2 separate regions of the Homo sapiens genome follow, and region 1 is linked to region 2. The links are contacts of gene promoters, found by promoter capture Hi-C in human tissues and cell types (Jung and others, 2019). All regions are on one chromosome and are shown on one strand. Each heading gives the region's core, a stretch centred on a gene start or on the middle of the fragment in contact. The rest is flanking DNA. Distances are from core to core; before and after follow the strand shown. Region 1 has its middle 37 kb from the start of PTH. Region 2 holds the start of PTH (parathyroid hormone).

Evidence for each region. Contacts are between HindIII fragments. The study calls those that stand out against the background at their distance.
Region 1: a contact is called between a fragment that was not itself captured here and the fragment with the promoter of PTH in region 2, in 2 of the 25 tissues and cell types used here (hippocampus and thymus).

The regions. Positions count from the first base shown.
Region 1 is chr11:13,530,372-13,535,354 of GRCh38, forward strand. No RefSeq gene overlaps it. Among named protein-coding and RNA genes, the nearest start is that of PTH, 37 kb to the left of the region's middle. The HindIII fragment of the contact is 3,343 bases long and covers 1,487-4,829 here.
Region 2 is chr11:13,494,119-13,499,512 of GRCh38, forward strand. PTH (parathyroid hormone) reads right to left here and starts at 1,879. Exons shown (of 3, transcript NM_000315.4): 1 at 1,793-1,879. RefSeq lists promoters at 1,812-2,562, 1,824-2,883, 1,876-2,038, an enhancer at 2,253-2,274 and silencers at 5,199-5,394, 5,200-5,300. The HindIII fragment of the contact is 4,838 bases long and covers 1-4,556 here.

The sequences.
Region 1 (4,983 bases), core at 1,908-4,407, 38 kb after region 2:
TTCTCCTTGAAGAGGTACTTCACATCTTTTGTAAGTTGTATACCTAAGTATTTTATTCTGTTTGTAGCAATTGTGAATGGGAGTTCACTAATGATTTGGCTCTCTGTTTGTCTACTATTAGTGCATAGGAATGCTTGTGATTTTTGCACATTGATTTTGTATCCTGAGACTTTGCTGAAGTTACTTATCAGCTTAAGGAATTTTTGGGCTGAGACAATGGGGTTTTCTAAATATACAATCATGTCATTTTGCAAACAGAGACAATTTGACTTCCTCTTTTGCTGTTTGAATACCCTTTATTTCTTTCTCTTGCCTGATTGCCCTGGCCAGAACTTCCAACACTATGTTGAATGGGAGTGGTGAGAGAGGGCATTCTTGTCTTCTGCCAGTTTTCAAAGGGAATGCTTCCAGCTTTTGCCCATTCAGTATGATATTGGCTGTGGGTTTGTCATAAATATTATTATTTTGATATATGTTCCGTCATTGCCTACTTTATTGAGTGTTTTTAGCATGAAGTGTTGTTGAATTTTATCAAAGACCTTTACTGCATCTATTGAGATAATAATGTGGTTTTTGTCAGTGGTTCTGTTTATGTGATGGATTACGTTTATTGATTTGCGTTTGTTGAACCAGCCTTGCATCGCAGGGATGAAGCCGACTTGATTGTAGTGGATAAGCTTTTTGATGTGCTGCTGGATTCAGTTTGCCAGTATTTTATTGAGGATTTTCACAACAATGTTCATCAGGGATATTGGCCTGAAATATTCTTTTCTTCTTGTATCTCTGCCAGGTTTTGGTATCAGGATGATGCTGGCCTCATAAAATGAGTTAGGGAGGAGTCCTTCTTTTTCTATTGTTTGGAATAGTTTCAGAAGGAATGGTACCATTTCCTCTTTGTATCTCTGGTAGAATTTGGCTGCGAATCCACCTGGAACTGGGCTTTTTGTAGTTGATAGGCTATTAATTACTGCCTCAATTTCAGAACTTGTTATTGGTCTATTCAGGGATTTGACTTTTTCCTGGTTTAGTCTTGGGAGGTTGTATGTGTCCAGGAATTTATCCATTTATTCTAGATTTTCTAGTTTATTTGTGTAGAGATATTTATAGTATTCTCTGATGGTAGTTTGTATTTGTGTGGGATGAGTGGTGATATCCCTTTTATTATTTTTTTGTGTCTATTTGAGTCTTCTCTCTTTTCTTCTTTGTTAGTCTGGCCAGAAGTCTATTTTGTTAATCTTTTCAAAAAATCAGCTCCTGGATTCATTGATTTTTTGAAGGGTTGTTCATGTCTCTATCTCCTTCAGTTCTGCTCTGATCTTAGATATTTCTTGTCTTCTGTTAGCTTTTGAATTTGTTTTCTCTTGCTTCTCTAGTTCTTTTAATTGTGATGTTAGGGTGTTGATGTTAGATTTCTCCCATTTTCTCCTGTGGGCATTTAGTGCTATAAATTTCCCTCTAAACAATGCTTTAGCTGTGTCTCAGAAATTCTGGTACGTTGTGTCTTTGTTCTCGTTAGTTTCAAAGAAGATATTTATTTCTGCCTTAATTTCATCATTTACCCAGTAGTCATTCAGGAGCAGGTTGTTTGGTTTCTATGTAGTTGTGCGGTTTTGAGTGAGTTTCTTAATTCTGAGCTCTAACTTGATTGCACTGTGGTCTAAGAGACTGTTTGTTATGATTTCTGTTCTTTTACATTTGCTGAGGAGTGTTTTACTTCCAATTATGTGGTCTGTTTTAAAATAAGTGCTATGTGATGCTGAAAAGAATGCATATTCTGTTGATTTTGGGGGGAGTATTCAGTAGATGTCTATAAGGTCTGCTTGGCCCAGAGCTGAGTTCAAGTCCTGAATATTCTTGTTAATTTTCTGTCTCATTGATCTGTCTAATATTGACAGTGGGGTGTTAAAGTCTCCCACTATTATTGTGTGGGAGTCTAAGTCTCTTTGTAGGTCTCTAAGAACTTGCTTTATGATTCTGGTTGCTCCTGTATTGGGTGCATATATATTTAGGATAGTTAGCTCTTCTTGTTGCATTGATCTCTTTACCATTATGTAATGCCCTTCTTCGTCTTTTTTTATCTTTGTTGGTTTAAAGTGTGTTTTATTAGAGACTAGGATTGCAACTCCTGCTTTTTTTGGGTTTTCATTTGCTTTGTAAATATTCCTCCATCCCTTTATTGTGAGCCTATGTGTAGCTCATATGAGATGAGTCTCCTGAATACAGCACACCAATGGGTCTTGACTCTTTATCCAATTTGCCAGTCTGTGTCTTTTAATTGGGGCATTTACATTTAAGCTTAATATTGTTATGTGTTAATTTGATCCTGTCATCATAATGCTAGCTGGTTATTTTGCACATTAGTTGATGCAGCTTCTTCATAGTGTCATTTGTCTTTATATTTTGGTATGTTTTTGCAGTGGCTGGTACCAGTTTTTCCTTTCTGTATTTAGTGCTTCCTCAGGAGCTCTTGTAAGGCAGGCCTGTTGGTGACAAAAATCCCTCAATATTTGCTTGTCTGTAAAGGATTTTATTTCTCCTTCGCTTATGAAGCTTAGTTTGGCTGCATATGAAATTCTGGGTTGAAAATTCTTTTCTTTAAGAATGTTGAATATTGGCCCCCACTCTCTTCTGGCTTGTAGGGTTTTTGCAGAGATATCTGCTGTTAGTCTACTGGGCTTCCCTTTGAGGGTAACCTGACCTTTCTCTCTGGCTGCCCTTAACATTTTTTCCTTCTTTTCATCCTTGGTGAATCTGATGATTATGTGTCTTGGGGTTGCTCTTCTCAAGGAGTATCTTAGTGGTGTTCTCTGTATTTCCTTAATTTGAATGTTGGCCTGTCTTGCTAGGTTGGGGAAGTTCTCCTGGATAATATCCTGAAGAGTGTTTTACAGCTTGGTTCCATTCTCCCCATCACTTTGAGGTACACCAGTCATTTGTAGTTTTGGTCTTTTCACATAGTCCCACATTTCTTGGAGGCTTTGTTCATTCCTTTTCATTCTTTTTTCTCTATCTTGTCTTCATGCTTCATTTCATTAAATTGATCTTCAATCTCATATCCTTTCTTCTGCTTGATCAATTTGGCTATTGATACTTGTGTATGCTTCATGAAGTTCTCATGCTGTGTTTTCAGCTCCATCAGGTCATTTATGTTCTTCTCTAAAATGGTTATTCTAGTTAGCAGTTCCTGTAACCTTTTACCAACATTCTTAGCTTCCTTGCATTGTGTTAGAACATGCTCCTTTAGCTCGAAGGAGTTTGTTATTACCCACCTTCTGAAGCCTACTTCTGTCAATTCGTCAAACTCATTCTCCATCCAGTTTTGTTCCCTTGCTGGCAAGGAGTTGTGTTCCTTTGGAGGAGAAGAGGCATTCTGGTTTTTGGAATTTTCAGCATTTTTTGCACTGGTATTTCCTCATCTTTGTGGATTTATCTACCTTTTATCTTTGATGCTGAGGACCTTTGATGGGGTTTTTGCATGGGCATCCTTTTACTTGATGTTGACTTTGATGTTATTGCTTTCTGTTTGATAGTTTTCTTTCTAACAGACAGGCCCCTCTGCTGCAGGTCTGCTGGTGTTTGCTGGAGGTCCACTCCAGACCCTATTTGCCTGGGTATCACCAGTGGAGGCTGCAGAACAGCAAAGATTGCTGCCTGCTCCTTCCTCTGGAAGCTTCACCCCAGAGGGGCACCCGCCAGATACCAGCCAGAGTTCGCTTGTATGAGGTATCTGTCGACCCCTGCTGGGAGGGGTCTCCCAGTCAGGAAGCATGGGGGTCAGGGACTCACTTGAGGAGGCAGTCTGTCCCTTAGCAGAGCTTGAGTGCTGTGCTGGGAGATCCGCTGCTCTCTTCACAGCTGGCGGCCAGTAATGCTTAAGTCTGCTGAAGCTGTGCCCACAGCCACCCCTTCCCCCAGGTGTTCTGTCCCAGGGAGATAGGAATTTTATCTATAAGCTCCTGACTGGGGCTGCTGCCTTTCTTTCAGAGATGCCCTTCCCAGAGAGGAGAAATCTAGAGAGTCAGTCTGGCTACAGTGACTTTGCCGCGCTGTGGTGGGCTCCACCAAGTGTGAACTTCTGGCAGCTTTGTTTACACTGTGAGGGATAAACCGCCTACTCAAGCCTCAGTAATGGCGAATGCCTCTCCCCTGACCAGGCTGACCTAGTGTCCGAGGTTGACTTCAGACTGCTGTGCTGGCAGCGAGCATTTCAAGCCAGTTGATCTTAGCTTGATGTGCTCCATGGGGTGGGACCCACTGAGCAAGACCACTTGGCTCCCTGGCTTCAGCCCCCTTTCCAGCGGGGTGAACAGTTCTGTCTCACTGGGGTTCCAGGTGCCACTGGGATATGGGAAAGAAAAAACTTCTGCAGCTAGCTTGGTGTCTGTTCAGTCGCCCAGTTTTTTGCTTGAAACCCAGGGCCCTGGGGATGTAGGCACCCGAGGGAATCTCCTGGTCTGCGGGTTGCAAAAATTGTGGGAAAAGCATAGTATCTGGGCCAGATAGCACTGTCCCTCATGGCACAGTCCCTCAGCTCTTCCCTTGGTAAGATGAGGGAGTTCCCCAACCCTTACACTTCCTGGGTGAGTTGACTCCCCACCCTGCTTTGGCTGTCCCTCCGTGGGCTGCACCCACTGTCTAGTCCCAGTGAGATGAACTGGGTACCTCAGTTGGAAATGCAGAAGTCACCCACCTTCTGCATTGGTCTCACTGGGAGCTGCAGATTGGAGCTGTTCCTATTTGGCCATCTTGCCTCTCCACCAGTAATAATAATTTTTAAAAGCCTAGAAACAACCCAAATGTTCAACTGGTGAATAGATAATAGCACTACATACGTTTTCAGAACTCATTAAATTACACTTAAGATAGGAGGCTGAGGCAGGAAAATGGCGTGAACCTGGGAGGTGGAGCTTGCAGTGAGCTGAGATTGCACCACTGCACTCCAGCCTGGTCGACAGAGCAAGACTCTGTCTCAAAAAAAAAAAA
Region 2 (5,394 bases), core at 629-3,128:
AAAATTAGGCACCATTTAAAAGACTTGGAGAACAGACCAGCGTGGCTTCTTGGGCACAGCTGGATGGTGCTGGAAGCCAGGCCTGGGATTTGGAGAGAAGAGTCTCCAACAGATAAACCCACGGAGGTCACCAGCCCTCCCTGCATCTACTCTCCTAACAGCTCAGGATGGCCCTGTTACACTACTGCCAGCCCTGGTGACTCGCTTTCTTAGCAATTTTTAAAGCCCTCTTCATTATGTACTTCCTACTTAAAATTCAGAACCTCTGTGATAAGCAATGCCTCTGTCATACAGAATGCTGGATCTCAGTTTACTGAGCCTCTCCCTGTAGTGTCACAGGCTGTGCACTCACCTAGATGAGCCCCTAAGAGCAGGGTTTGCTTCTGCTTCATCTAATGCCACATCTTCCCTCAAATGTGTGGTCACCAAATGTTCTGCAAAAAGGGTCTCTAGCTTTTTACTTTTCTTTTTGGCAAATTAAGCCCTTTAAAATACTTCTGACCTATCTTTATACTCAGATCTCACCTCATCTCAAGTTTTATGGGGTAATGCGCCAGTGAAAGGTACAGTGGTATTAGTGAGTTCTGAAGCTTCTAATTACATAGACAATAGAGGCTGGCTGGTGAGCCATGCTTCTCATGCTCCCTTCTGTCACACTGCAGAAATCTTAAGCTACAAGAGGAATGAAAGAGCCTATTTTTGAGAAATCCCCCCGCACTGCATTTTATGTTGATTATACCTAAATGTTTATAACTTGCTTGAAAATGCCTAATTTTCTTCATAGTGTAAATTGTTAACACTATTTACGTAGCAAATCCTTTTCTTAAGTAACCTTCATTTCAGGCATTGTAATAACCATAAATACCAAACTAATAGGTGCTAATCTAGAGATTTTCACTAAATTAATTCACATTTCTCCTAGCATTAAAAATAATGTGTCAAAGCATTTAAAAATCATCTGATTAATTACTTGTGATATGGATTTCGAGCTTTATCTCTGAATGGAATGCTTGTTTGTAGCTTATTTCTTCAACTTATTTTATTAACAATTATCTTTTAATATAACTTTTGTCTCTTTCCTCGTTTCACATCAGTATAGGATATTCTTGCCTTAATCTGCATTTCAGTACTTGCAAAGGCTGTTATTATAGAAGTGCTTTTCCTTAATGCTCAGTGTACTACCTTTTAACATACACATAGAGTAGTTATGTACTCCTATTTTACAGGGAAACTGCATCATTTAGAAATAGCATAGGAAATACTGTTTTCAGAATACAGCTGTCATTTATGTAAAGGAAATAAATATTTACTAGTCAAACTGGGCTTATCCAACTTTAGTATACAGATTGGGCTCTTTATGAGCCATAAAATAAATAATCTAGATAAGAATACTCTGCAGGAAAAACAGAATATTAACTCCACTTAATAAATTTATAAAGATTATTTAAATCAGAACTATTCATTCACCATCAACCTGTTTTATTTCAAAATTTTGACACCGATACTATTATATTAAAGCATAGCATGCCAAATTTTAATGATTTTTTGTTGTAATTTCAGATGAGGTTTTAAAAGGCAAGGTATCTCAGAAGACTTTAATCAAAAAGGATTTTGTGATTTGAGTAGCATTAATTTATTTTGTATGTGGCATTTTATATTAAACATAACTCAAACTTCTTAGCATTTTACCTTGAAGAAACAACATGGTATTTGTAGAAATGGTACACATTAAATAATAACTTGATTATCAAAATCTCATGAGATTCAGAAGTGAATTTTTAAGTTTACTTACCATACAATGTCTTAGAACAAGATCTTCGTTCAGGTATGTTAGTAGCTGATGCTGAGTAAACTAAAGACAACTGATGAATTGGACTGCAGACCCCTTAAATGGTGACTTTTATATATAGGTCTTCTGCTTACCAAGAGAGGCTCTTTTATTGTTACAGATGATGTCACTCCCAATTCTCTGGATCTCAACTATAGGTTCAAAGCAGCACATACACACACCCATTGGGCGGTGCACACTCTTCTTAAGTTTCAGATAATTGGATACTAAAAGGAAAACAGCATTTGGCTTGACAAGGGGCTTATGCAAAGACTTTTAACAAATACAGAATTATACCATCGAGAAAAATTCTATGTGGATTAATGAATCTGAATTTATACTGTAAAAAGACTGATTTCAAAGGTTTATGATAAAGTCATTATCTTACTTGAAAATAAAACCCAAAAATAAGTGTATTTGTTATAACCGTACTGTTGGTACAGTTTTTATGGTAATAAATCATAAATGTTAGGCTTACTTTACAAGCCATTTTCAACCAATCCATGTCACTTCTGGTCATCTTTCAAAAAACAGATATAGCCCTTTTCTTAAAGGAAGTGTTAAGAATAATTTGAGAAAATGCTCTTAGTACATAATTACTTTAAAAGCTTCAAAAGTGAAATTATTTTAAAATTTATTTAACTTATATTTTATTTGTGCATCTTAATCTATAATAATAACATTTGATAAGCACTAACTGCATGCCTAACTACATATATTATCCCACTAGATCTTCACAGCAGTCCTTTAAAGTTAGTACTTAAAGTACTAAAGTTAAGTGCTTATCCCCATTTTTACATGAGGAAACTTAGGCTTGGAAAGCAGAAAAGATGGAATTCAACAAAGGTCTTTATGACACCAGATTCTTACTACCTCAGTTTCTGCCTAGAAATACAGCCCTTCTTTGAACTCCAGTCTTCTTGACTTTAATTTGCAAAGTCATCTGAAAACACAGCAAAAGCTCTTTGCAACATTTTCCCCTAGGGGTTAGGTCTTTATTCTCATGTTCCCTAAGGGATGATGAGAGCCTGCTCCAAAACCTATTGGAGGCATGATGCTGCCACATGTCTGACTTCAAATATTCCTCCAGCAATATTTTCCTGGTCCACCTGTCAAAACACCCTGAATGTCTTTGATATATCTAGGACTCCTTTAGACAGCTTTGCCTTCCCACCAAAGATCCGGTGCCAGAGTGGGATCAGTTCTCTCAGCTCTGGTCCCATCCTGGCTTCATGTCATCCTTTTTCCTACTAGCCATTGTCAAGGTTTGACTCTACCTTAGGTAAGAGCCAGTACAAATTTGAATAGTAACCGTATGGAGTTTATAATGAGAGATATATACTAGTCCTGTCCTAGGAGATTCTCCACTCTGGGTTAACCTCACTTAGAGTGTTGCTCCAGGCTCCATTTTAGAAGCAGTAGAAACAAATGGGAACATACACTGAGGATATCAATCAGTTTGGTGAAAATGTTGAAAACTATAACATGAGAAGTAGTTGAATGAAACTAGAAAAGTCTGAGGAAAAAAAGACGGGATGACTTTATAGCTGTGTTTAATTATTTATAGGGTTACCATAAGGAAGAAGGAGTATTCTCTGTGGTTTAAGAAGGAAGGGCTGGGTTCATTGGGTTTAACTTGGACATTATAATTGTCAAAATAAGGAATCAAGTACCTTCTCAAATAGTGATTTCTCCATCACTGAGAATATTCAAGTAGAAGGTAGATGAGCATTTATCAGGCATACTATAGAGATTCATACATAGAAGAAAGTTGAACTAGATAACCAAGAGGTCTCTTTTAACTGTAAAAATCTGTTGTCTTGATCTTTTTAAAGACCTCTTCTGATGCAAACTCTACATGTGATGTTTGTGTGTCATTTTTCTGCTATACTCTGTTGAGAAGAAGAATTGGAAATACAGATGGTTTTTCTTTTTTCTTTGAGATAGGATCTCACTCTGTCACTCAGACTGGAGTGGTGCAGTGGTATGGACATGGCAGCCTCAACTTTCGGGGCTCAAGCAGTCCTTCCACCTCAGCCTTCTGAGTAGTGGGGGCTATAGGCACACAGCACCACAACCAGCTAATTTTTAAATTTTTGTGGAGGCAGAGTGTAGCTAAATTGCCCAGGCTGTCCTTGGCTCAAGCAGTCCTCCCACCTCTCGCTCCCAAAGTGCTGGGATTACAGGCATGAGCCACCACACCCAGCCACTAATGGATTTTTATTTTTTAACTTTTAAGTTCAGGGGTACATGTACAGGCCTGTTATATAGGTAAACTCATGTCGTGGAGGTTTATTGTACTAATTATATCATGACCCAGGTATTAAGCCTAGTGCCCATTAGTTATTTTTCCTGATCCTCCGCCTCCTTCCACTCTCCATCCTTCAGTAAGCCCCAGTGTGTGTGGTTCCCTTCTTTGTGTCCATGTGTTCTCATCTTTTAGCTCCCAATTATAAGTGAGACCATGAGATATTTGGTTTTCTGTTCCTATGTTAGTTTGCTAAGGATAGTGGCCTCTAGCTCCATCTTGTTCTTTTTTATGGCTGCCTAGTATTCCATGGTATGTAGGCACCACGTATTCTTTATCCAGTCTACCACTGTTGGGCATTTAGGTTGATTGCATGTCTTTGCTATTGTGAATAGTGCTATAATGAACATACGCATGCATATGTCTTTATTATAGAATGATTTATATTCCTTTGAGTATATACCCAGTAATGGGATTGCTGGATCAAATTGTAGTTTTGCTTTTAGTCTTTGAGGGATCGCCACACTGTTTTCCACAATTGTTGAACTAATTTACACTCCCACTAACAGTGTATAAATGTTCCTTTTTCTCCACAACCTCACCCATACCTGTTATTTTTTGGCTTTTTGATAACAGCCATTCTGACTGGTGTGAGATGGTGGCTCGTTATGGTTTTGATTTGCATTTCTCTGATGATCAGTGATGTTGAGCTTTTTTCCATACGCTTGTTGGCCACATGTATGTCTTATTTTGAAAAATGTCTGTTCATGTCCTTTACCCACTTTTTAATGGGGTTGTTTGTTTCTTGTAAATTTGTTTAATTTATAGATGTTGGATATTAGGCCTTTGTCAGATGCATAGTTTGCAAAAATTTTCTCCCATTCTGTAGGTTGTCTCTTTACTCTGTTGATAGTTTCTTTTGCTGTGCAGAAGCTCTTTAGTTTAATTATATCTCATTTGTTAATTTTTGCTTTCATTGCCATTGCTTTTGGCATCTTCTTCATGAAATCTTTGCTCATTCCTATGTCTATAACAGTATTGCCAATGTTGTCTTCCAGGGTTTTTATAGTTTCGGATCTTTAATCCATCTTGAGTTAATTTTTGTATATAGTGTAAGGAACAGGTCCAGTTTCAATCTTCTGCATACACAAATGGTTTTATAAACACATTTTTTGCATTGTTATTATAAAGCCATGCTTAATATTCTGATTTGGAGATTTTTCCCGCTTTGGGTAAGTTTAATGTAATTGACAGCCTTCTAGGAGTGATGCAATTATCACTTTCTTGTTCTTCTTTCTCTTACACTTATTTATAGAAT